Regions from separate parts of the Homo sapiens genome. Here regions 2 and 3 are each linked to region 1. Evidence: promoter capture Hi-C in 16 types of primary human blood cells and fetal thymus (Javierre and others, 2016). All regions are on one chromosome and are shown on one strand. Each heading gives the region's core, a stretch centred on a gene start or on the middle of the fragment in contact. The rest is flanking DNA. Distances are from core to core; before and after follow the strand shown. Region 1 holds the start of APCDD1 (APC down-regulated 1). Region 2 has its middle 150 kb from the start of LINC01254. Region 3 has its middle 200 kb from the start of LINC01254.

The links. The method cuts DNA at HindIII sites, captures the fragments that hold promoters and counts their contacts. A CHiCAGO score of 5 or more calls a contact.
Region 2: a fragment that was not itself captured here is called in contact with the fragment with the promoter of APCDD1 in region 1 in 1 of 17 cell types (naive B cells); the score reaches 5.4 in naive B cells.
Region 3: a fragment that was not itself captured here is called in contact with the fragment with the promoter of APCDD1 in region 1 in 4 of 17 cell types (naive B cells, endothelial precursors, M2 macrophages and 1 more); the score reaches 6.3 in naive B cells.

Annotation. Positions count from the first base shown.
Region 1 is chr18:10,452,757-10,456,189 of GRCh38, forward strand. APCDD1 (APC down-regulated 1) reads left to right here and starts at 1,879. Exons shown (of 5, transcript NM_153000.5): 1 at 1,879-2,283. The coding sequence starts at 2,226. The HindIII fragment of the contact is 7,093 bases long and covers 1-3,433 here.
Region 2 is chr18:10,262,855-10,266,211 of GRCh38, forward strand. No RefSeq gene overlaps it. Among named protein-coding and RNA genes, the nearest start is that of LINC01254, 150 kb to the right of the region's middle. The HindIII fragment of the contact is 946 bases long and covers 957-1,902 here.
Region 3 is chr18:10,207,859-10,211,751 of GRCh38, forward strand. No RefSeq gene overlaps it. Among named protein-coding and RNA genes, the nearest start is that of LINC01254, 200 kb to the right of the region's middle. The HindIII fragment of the contact is 1,076 bases long and covers 1,936-3,011 here.

The DNA.
Region 1 (3,433 bases), core at 629-3,128:
AAGGCTTTTGTTCTGCATAACCAACCAAGTATGCTGTTTACATCGTTTCCAACTGCCCAACATTCGTGAAGAAGTCAAATTCTTGGTTTAAAATGAAAATTTGATTGGCCCTTGGCAAACATTCAAATCTTACAAATCATAGTCTGCTACCCAAGCCTAGCAACTGGGATGAGAGAACGATCAGGTACAAAGTCAGGCTCAGAAAGATGTGGCAGAGCAAGACTAACACAAAATAATGCCTGCGCTCATAGGCATCGTTTTCATGATCTTCTTTTTGCCCACACAGGTATTCTTTCATCTTCAAGATTTGCAAACAGGAGCACATTAATCTTCACAACATCCGTGTGAGCTGAGCAGCTGGTACATCTTATGATCCTCTGTATTAATGATGGAAAGATGATAATGATGGTGATAAAAATTAAGACACATCAAACAGCGTCAGCACTATCACATCAAAACACCCATGGATTTCTCAGGTTAAAAAAAAAAAAAGAAAAGTGGAAACTGTCAAATGTATTCTCATCTATTTTACTATTATACCGTTGCTAAGATCCAACTACTTTTGAAAGTCTAACACATAAGGAGTTGAATTATTGCATTGTTCAAAGGGGCAGAGAATTCTCTTGGGAAATCAGGCATTTATTTTAATCTTTTTTTTAAATGAAAAACACTAACGGTTGCGTCAAGAAATGTTCTCTAGACTCCACTGGGTCTCCTGTCTGCTCTTTATCCTAGTGTGGAGAAGAGGTGACATTAACCTTAGGAGGGGGAAAACTGCTGGAAGAGGGGAAGGGCTCAAGCAGGCCCTTGGCAGAGGAGGGACCTTCCAGGTAAATCAGATGGCCACTGCCTTGTACCCGCATTGGAGAACGAAGGACCCCAGGGGAAACTCTTCCTGCCTTTGGGTCTCAAACGCCCATGTAGTCCCCCCTCCCCCACAAGACCGCGAACACAAATAAAATCAGCTTTGATTGTGGTGATTCAATTTGCTCTGGAAGAGAAGAGGACTCGGCGAAGGGGCCTAAGTGCACGTTCTTAGACTGACAGGGAGCGTTTCTCGGAGATTTCTCCCGTTTCAACAAGTCATTTGCCTAGTGGAAGGGGGAGGAAAAAGTGAACGGGCTCCTGCCTCCTACACCGTGCCCTTCCCAGGTTGGGGCCTATGACAAGGTTCTCCGTGCTCCCCAGAGGAGCCAGGCACTGGGCCGGGGTAGGCGATTTGTAGTGAAGACCTGCACCGCACCCACGAGGGGGCCCAGCACTGACGCATCCTCACCCCCAGCAACCCTCCAGGACTCTCTCTTTGGTCTCCCCTCTCTCCCATGGCTGCGCGCTGGCACACACCCCGGCTCAGCAGGCCGCTTTGCTTGGATCCCACGCCAGGCCTCCAGCCTCGCCGCCCGCACCCCCTTTGAACACCTTTCCCCAGGGGAGTGGGCGGAGGCGGAAGGGTGACCCGCGCATTCTCTTTCCTTGCGGGCGGGGTGCGGGGCCAAAGGCTCCCACCCCCTCCAAGGAGGAAGCGCGCCCGGAATGGGGGACGGGGAGGAGAGAAAGGGGTGCGCAGAGCCAGAGGGAGGCAGAGGGGCCTGGAGGGAGGAGAGGAGGAGGGGAGGATGGAAGGGGTAGGAAGCTGGAAGAGGAGGGGTAGGCGAGAGAGGGGAAGGAGGGAAGCGGGAGGGGAGCGGGGGGAGGAGGGGCGCCCGGAGTGGGAGGAGGGGAGGCGTTGCCCGACGCGCCCTTTCAAGTCTCCGCGCTCCCCCCCGGCGGCGGCTGCCCGGGGGCGGTGGCTCGGCGTCGCCTCCCCCGACCGCCCCCTCCAGGGCCCCTCCTCCGTGCCGCGGCCAGGCTGCCCGGCCGGCGGCGCGCTGGAAATATGAAGAGACGCTGCAGCTGCGGTGGCGGTGGCGGCCACTGCAGCTCAGAGCGGCGCACGCGGCGGCCGGGGCGGGACGCGGGGCCGGGCGCGGAGAAGTCGGGGCGGGCGGCAGAGAGGCCGGGACGCGGACCGGGCCGGGGCGCCCACAGCCGCCCGACGGCGCCCAGAGAGCGCGCGCCCCGCAGCCCCGCGCCTAGCCCGCCGGGCATGGGGCGCGCGGCAGCCGCCTGAAGCCCCGGCCTGGCCCGGCCGCACCCGGCCGGAGGCGGAGGGCAGAGCGCGCGCCCAGTTGCCCGGGCACCAAATCGGAGCGCGGCGTGCGGGAGGCCCCAGAGCAGGACTGGAAATGTCCTGGCCGCGCCGCCTCCTGCTCAGATACCTGTTCCCGGCCCTCCTGCTTCACGGTGAGTTCCCGAGGGCCACTCGAGCGCTCCCAGCCGGCGGAGGCAGCCCGGGCGCCGCGGAGCCCGCGGAGGCGTCGGGTCTGGATCGCGGCACGGCCTACACTGTCCCCTTGGCGGGGCGGGTCCGAGGGGAGCCCCGCGCCTGCCGTCTCAGCCCTGGGAGAGGGGGCTCTGCCCACTTTCCGAGGCTTGGGACCGCTCTCCCCCAGGGCGCCCGGAGCTCTTTGCTGCGGGACTGTTCTTTTTGGAAGGGTGGAAGCTCTCCCACGCAGACACCTTTTATGTCCAGAATCCGTTGCATCCAGTCCGAGGGAAACTTTCGTCCGCTCTGCTGGATTTTCCAACTGTACACTGCCATGAAATCGCCGGCTCTGCGAGCCTTTTTCCAAAATGCCAGAATGCAGCAGGCTCTTGATGTGTTCCAAGCGTTTAGGAGAGTGGAAAGAGAAACTGATCATTTGGGAAAGACACGTCTGTCTGCCTTCTGAAAACTAGTGTTTGTTGTCTGCCTGCACTTTGCCTCGCGATTGAGGCGGGGTTGTGGGGTTTTCTCCCAAGTGGACTGTTGCGTTCTCTGGGTGTAATTTTAAGAAACAGGGGACCCCTATTAGCCAAGATTTAATCATTATTACCAGTCTCCCAATGTGCACCCCAACTTGACGTCCCATTTCCTGGGCTTCCAGTGCCACTTTTCCCCAGGGGTTCTAGTAAACCTTTAGCTAGAGAACATCAGCCCTTTCAGCGGGTTCCAGAAATTGCGCTGAAAACACCAAGACAGAATTTCTTTGGGGTGGACAAGGCAGGTTTTATGGCGCGTCGGGTTCATAATCCTGACAAGCCGTGGCAGATCACGTCGTGTTGATGTGGATGTCCTGAGCAAACTGTCCCTAATGGTCAGACACCTGACGTTTCAACAGCATGACTTCACGGCTCTCCTTCCTCAACACCCACCACAGCCACCCCAAACCTGTAGCGGGCTCCGGCTTCAGAATGCATGGTAGCCAGGACTGAAAGTCAGGCTGAGGACCTTCCCTCCGGAGGATCAAGGAAAGGGAAGAATTGTTAACCCACAAGCCACCGGGATGCTGTTTTCTTTGTAGTCCTGCCCCAGGTGGATGGCTCGCATAGCTCCACAGGCTTTGTGAACTTG
Region 2 (3,357 bases), core at 180-2,679, 190 kb before region 1:
CCCAGTCCCCAGAAAGAAACCCCATCTGTGCAGCTTTCTGCATCTCATTCCAATCCACGAAGGTTCTCATTACATTTTCAACATGAAACCTCAGCATTCAAACCTAATCATTTTAGGATGAAAATGAAAAGATAGCAAGGCCCCAGTCAACTGGAGCGATCGGGGGGCCCAGAGTTCCTAACGGAGCCATCTGCCTACCCTCTTCCCTCAGCAGTGAGGAATGGCCCCGAGGCTGGTTTAGACCACACCCTGCCTCTCCTGTCTTCCAGTCCCTGCTCACACCGCCCTCTGTGGGGTCCTGCCTGGAGAGCCCCCTCTCTTTTGTCAGCAGTCCTGATGGGAAACACAGGGGTTTAGAATCTTCAACAGGAAGCTGGCTGAGTCCTGGTCTCTTGGGATTTTTCCAAGAAAAGAACACAGGGAAGATGGCATTCTAACACGGCTCCAGGGCTCTGGCCGCCAAAGAAGTTTGTTCAGGGCTTACATTAAGAGGAATTTCATAGAACTAGGACACCAATAGGTTTTTAAATAAAATGTCTTTCTAGAGAGGGTTGGCCATAATGTGGGGAGACATGCCCTGAGCTTTTTTTGAGAGAAGCCCCCTCTAGACCCAGCCCAGTGGAATCCCAGCTGAAGTCCCCTGCAGAGGCAAAGGCCAGCTTTCAGCTCAGCACAGTGTGCTCGGGAGTTGAACAGTGGTCAAGCAGGTGTTACTTGGTCTAGAATTATCACGACCCTTGCTATTTGCATCATAGTGCACGCTCAACCTCATTTGCTTTTAGTCATTAGAAACCTTATTTCCCAAGGCATCAATTAGTGGAAAAGAGGGGCAGATTTCAGACATGGGAGCTGCAGGAGGTAACTGATCAGCCTGGTCTGCCTGGCCAGGGTACCAGGAAACTCAAGGGTAACCTTGCAAAGGCACTGGAGGAACGGGAGAAAGGTGGGTTAAGGGAAGCTTCCCCGCTGCTCCCAGGAGGCTGCCAGGGCCACCGGAAGTGGGAGTGCACCCCAACCTCAGAAAAGCAGAGCAGAGAGACCACCCTGCCATGCCAGCCCTGCGAGGGACCTGGCCATGGGGGAGGAACAATTCACTCTCAACAGAGGGTGAGGACACGAGAGCCTGTAAGTTGTTTCATGACATTTGCAGACTTGATTTGAACATTGTTTTGAGAATGGAAAGTTTTAAAATCATAGTGAAAAGAAGAATGGCTGTTCCCAAATCCTCCTTATCAGTGTCTGCTAAGCCACCGTGAGCAGATCTGCTCCTGCCCTCAGATCTGGACGTGGTCATGGTCATGGAGGACTCCTTGATCTGTTTCATCATTCCCACCAGAATCAGCCTGCGGGCTGTGAAAGGGCCTTCTCCAGGGGCTCCTCCAAGGAGAGCGAGCCCAGAAGGAAGCCCAAGTTGGAAGCAGCCGTGGGGATAAGCAGGAGCACCATTTATCTATCAGATCCCACCAGCTGTGAGTCTGGCTGAGCCGGGAGACCCTGACAGTCCCCCGCAAGAACATGGTGGCCGTGAGGAGTGGGCTGAATGTCTATATTCTCCTCATGCTAAGGGTTTTCAAACTGTAGATCACGAACCGTTTGTGGTTCATTGAGCGTGTGGTGATGAGCATTTACATAAGTGAATAAATAGAACAGAAAATAACCAAGTGGCTTTTCTGTAGTGAGGCTAGTGTTATTTCATAAAAACTTTATTTCAGTTGTGTGTTTGAATGTACTATGTATCTTAATCCATGACATAAAATGTAGTTCTTACTTTAGGCCAAGATCAGACAGGATTGAAATGGCCCTGTATTGCTAATGGGTTCCCCAGTGAATGTGGCTGAACAACCTTCATCCTGTATGAACCATGAGTGCCAAATTTAGAAAATATCAGACAATGATATGCTAAGCTTGTACAACAACCTTTTTGAACAAATGAAGGGAGAAAGATGACAACAGCCAGAACTTTGCTATTAGTGAAAACAGAAGAGTTTAAAAATTCAGAGCAGAGGAGATGTACTGGTGTCGTCCCACAGCTCCGCCAATGGTGTGGGGGAGCAGGTGTTCTCTCTCTGTTTACTTGAGGCCAGTATCAGTACTATTGTTCTATTGCTGGTCCTCTTGACAGTCTGCTTCCCAACCTTTCCAACCTCTCAATTAATTTAATTCTATTAATTTAATTCAATTAAAGTTGAATAAAATTTTAATTCAGGTGTTTGGTCACATAAGACCAGTGGCTACCACAGTGGACAGTGTAGTACAGAACATCACCACCAGTGCAGAGAGTTCCAGTGGACACAGCTGGTCTAGAGGTTTATACAAGGGGCTCTGTTGTCCCTCCAGAAGGTAGCCTATATCACTTCTGCCACATCCCATTGGCTGGAACCTAGTCCCTTAACCCCAACCTCACTGCTATACAAGTTGGGGTGTGTGGGAGAAGTTGGGAGAAGGCATCTTGAACACATCTCCCCGAATGCCAGAATGTCCAGACTTTCTTCAAACTGTTTCTAGCCCACACCTTTTGTTTAATGTTAGCATTTCCAACAAAATTCTGGAGTGATTTCAATCTCAGTTCCAGACATCAAGGTATAAAATTCTTTATCCTGGACTCCAATAAACTAATCAGCATAGTGTGAAAATAGTTTTGTCTCAGATGGGATTGAACCCTGCATGGGAGAGAGGAGGTGGCCCTTGGCCCCACCTTCAACCCACAATGTGCATCCTTGGCCAATCATCCCCCTTTGGCATTTCTTTTCCTAAGCCACAAACTGAGGCAATGGTTCTACTCTAGTCCATTCCTAACTCCCTTGCCAGTTGCAACCCTTCCTGTCTGTAGTCAAGTTAATTCTTTTTGTGTCTAGGAACAGTAGACTCTAGCTACTTCCTCTTTCTCTTGTGTTTTCCACTTGAGTTTGGTTTAAAATATTGGCTGACTCCTGTCTCAAGATCAAGATAAGCTCTGATGGCAGGTGGTCATGTACCTCTAGTCGGCAACACCCCAAGGTGGAATGTACTACTTTGGGGGTTGAATAAATTGTTGGATTGATTTCACTGAGTTGGAATGAGGGAGGTTGTCTGTATTTATAAATTATTTAGTATTGACGAGCCATTTTTCAACCAACCACTCCACTGTCTCTAAATTTAATTAATTCCATTCAATGTAGATAAAGCTCAAGGCTCTTGGCTGCAAGATATAAAGAGATAAGAACTGAATCAATGCTGTAGAATGTCAGGCTAGGGTCAGTGTTTGCCTCTGACATGGTGCTGGGAGAGGTTTGTTGGGTGAGTCGTAGAGTTTTGCTATCTGACATTGATCTCAAAGGATTCGTGACGACAACCGCAGAATATTTCCAACTTTCCCTT
Region 3 (3,893 bases), core at 1,224-3,723, 240 kb before region 1:
ATTTGGACTTGTTATCTTTGTAATGTGAAGGTGGAGACAGCCAGTTGGCAGCTGGATGTTTAAGTCTGAAGTTTGGCAGGGATGTCCCGGCTGAAATCATCCGTATATTTTTGTAAAAATTGAAACCAGCGATGTGGCTGAATTTTCTAAGGCACACTAGGTAGAGTGAAAGAGGAGTAGTAGCCCAGGGTAGAACCCAGCTTTCTAGGTGAATTTGAGCAAATCATGTAATTTCCCTAAGCTTTAGTCTCCCATCTGTAAAATGGGGAATAAGGAAACACATGTCATAAACTGTCTTAGTCCATTTTGTGTTACTATGATGAAATACTTAAGACTGGGTAATTTATAAAGAAAAGAGGATTGTTTTCCTCACAATTATGGTGGCTGGAAAGTTCCAGAGCATGATGCTGTTATCTGCTTGACTTCTGGTAAGGGCTGCTGTGCTAAGCAGAAAGGCAGGTGGACATGTTCAAAGAGGCACACACAAGAGGCTGGGCTTAACTTGTAACAACCCGCTGTTGGGAGCTAATCTAGTTCTGAAGGAGTGAGAACTCACTGACTTCTGTGAGGTAGTGTTAATCTACTCATAAGCGTGGTGCCCCATGACCCAAACACCTCCTACTAAGCCCCACCTCCCAACACTGCCATATTGAGGGTTAAATTTTAACATGAATTTCTAAGGGGAAACTCAAGTACAGTCATGAATTCCTTAATGATGGGGATATGTTCTGAGAAATGCATCATTAGTCTATTTCATCACTGTGTGAATATCGTAGAATGCACTTACACAAACCTACATAGTACAGCCAACTACCCACCTAGGCTTCAGGGTATGGCCCATTGGCCCTGGCTACAAATCTGTACAGCAGGTTACTATCTTGAATACTGCAGGCAGCAGGAACACAGTGGTAAATGTTTGTGTATCTAAACATACCTCAATATAGAAAAGATACAGTATGCATGTGGTATTATTATTTTATGGAACCACTGACATATATGTGATCTGTCATTGACCAAAATGTTGTTGTGTCGCACATGACTATATAATACCATGTAAAAGACTCTAGGTACCTTGCCTCGTTTTTACTTTCATTATTAACATAATTCTTGTCATCAATATCACTTAAATAGGTCATAAAACCAGTAAGGAAAAGATAAATCAGCGTATGTAAAGACAAATAAGTCAAAATATTACCAAAATAATATTCTTAATAAGACATAAAGGTGAAAGACAATGAAAATAAAAACAAGGTCTCCAAATGCGCATTATTTTCTGTAGTTCAAATAATAAGAGAAATCAAAAGGGTGAATCCTCTAATACAATAATCTCAATTTTTACCACACTCAGCCAAAAGGCTGAGAAGCGATTCTCAATTTTTACTGAGTTTATTTTCCAAAAGATGCAGTAAAGAACAATAATTTGCAATCCCCAAACCACCTACCAACAATGTCTTTAACAAAAAGTTTATTTTCTTTTTCTTTTGGCTTTTGGGAAGCAAATGTTTGAATATATAAGTAATATTATTTTTCTACAGCAGGAGAAAGAATGTTAATTGTCTGAATTGACCTATAACTGTATACACGTTGGGCATATGCATGTACACACACACATGCACACTCGCACGCACACATGCAAGCACACTCGCACGCGCATATGCACATATACATCCCTGATCTCCCTTCAGACTTGTCCGGACATGTTGACCACACAGTAACTCACTGTTCTGTACATACAGAAAGAAGTGGGACCACCAGGGCTTTTCAATCTTGTGCCAAAGGTGGGAAATATATGCCCCAATGAAAAGAAAAGAGAACAAGAAATATTTGGAAAAAACGCAAGAAACTAATTCATCAAAGGACTCCATCTAGCCCATCTTGCATACAGTAAACAGGTTTAGAAAACTCTATCTTGTCATATCTCAAACAATTATTTCAAGCTTCTATTTAATAAACATTTCCTGTTTGTACTTTAAATGTGTAACATCCCTACCCATTTCATCTGTCAGTCAAATTGCCAACATTTATTAAGTAACCTCAAAGTGCCTAAAACGATTATAACAAATAACTGTCAAGGAATGCAGAAGAAACACGACTTAGAGCCAGGCTCTGAGCTTCTGAGTTGAGAGTGGGGGCGGGAATGGGAGAAAGAGGTTGAGTTTAATTTATGAAAAGTTTCAAGATCCCTCCATACTAATGCATAGAGAGAAACACAGAAGACACAGGTAGCAGCGGCTTCCTTCATTAGATCATTTGATCATTTATTTAATGCCAATAGGCATTAAGACCAACCCGGAGTTTGGCCCTGTGAAGGGGAACACAGAGGCAGACAGGCAGATAACCGACTTCCTATTATGCAGTGTGGTAGGGCTCTACTTAATGAAAAGAACAAAGTACTAAGAGAGAAGACCTTTGGATTAATTCTGCCTGGGTGGGTACCAGAAGGCTTATACTGAATTTTCCAGTTGGTTGCTCATATAGTCTTGAATTTAGAGGATTTTTTTTTTAAAAAAAAACAAGCCCATTGCCTGATTTGTTATGGTTCAATACTCTTCCGGCAGAGTTAGTCCCACCTCCCCTAGGCAGCCCCCACACTTACTTCACGCCTCCATTATGGTGCAATTCTTTGTGTCTGTCTGCAGGGCTACCGCTGAAATCATGGGTTGTGCTTCATTCCTGTCTGCCTTCCCAGCACTGAGTACAAGGCATACAGTGGCTGTTTCTTACACATTTTTCTGTTTGAAGGAAGGAATGCCAGTGTGGAACTACTCCAGAAAAGAAGAGTCCTTAGGGTGGTCCCTTGAAGTGGGAATTCTTCCCCTCACCCTCTACCCCTACGCACACTTTCTTTTTGCTAAATGAAGGACAACCTAGATATTTGGAAGTCCTTGGGGCCAGAACGTGTGATACGATGAGTTGTCAGTTCCACATCTTTGCTGGGCAGGGATAGCTAGGGTAAGAGGAGAAATGAGTTGGATTCCAATGACAAAATGATGGCTCAGCAGAGAGTAACAAGCTTAACCAATGAATTACAATTGCAAGAGGGGTTTCCTATTATTTCACACTGTCATAAACCATTGATAGGCCCATTAAGAAGGCCTCAGCCCAATTGTTTAATTCTCAGTTCATGATCAGGATTCATTAAGAAGCCATCATTATATCATAAGCCAAGAGGCCATACTGTTGCTCTTCTGTTCTTATTCTTTTGTCTTTTCCTATCTAGGGCTCTAAACATTCTTCAGAAACACACAAACAAACAAAATGTAATGAAGTAAACAGCATTCAGTAAGGCACATAAAAAGATAAAAAAACAAACATGCCAGATTTCCTTTCGTAAAAACTGGTTTAGAAAGGTCCGATTTGAAAAACTCTTTGGGAACTATCATCACATGTCAGTAATCATTTCACTTTGTTTAACAGAGAAACAAAACACACTTTTGGTTTAATTAATAAAGCAGCATGGAAGAAAATGCTGAAGAGGAAGAAAGGTGATGATACAGACTCAGATCACGTTGTACTTTCTTTCTTTCTGCATAGTATGTCTGTCTTCTTTAATTATTCATCTGATGTAATCATAACAACTGTGTGTATGGAACCAATAAAAGATTTCCAAATATCTTCAGATCTGCAGTTTATTCTGAAGTCCAGATATCATTATCATTTGCTCTGTGCCTCTTTCTTCATGGAGTCAAACTTGTGTCTGGCACTTTCCAGACTTCTAGACACAATTAAACAATGGATGTCAGGAAAGGAAGGAGTGAGAATCTTCCACGTGTGTCTAACCTTCCCATGCTCACAGACAAAAACGTTAGTTTTCATCTTGGGCCAGGCCCTCAACCTCAGTATCTTTTTCCCATCCCACACATTAGCATTGGGAGAAAGAATAAAAGGGAAAA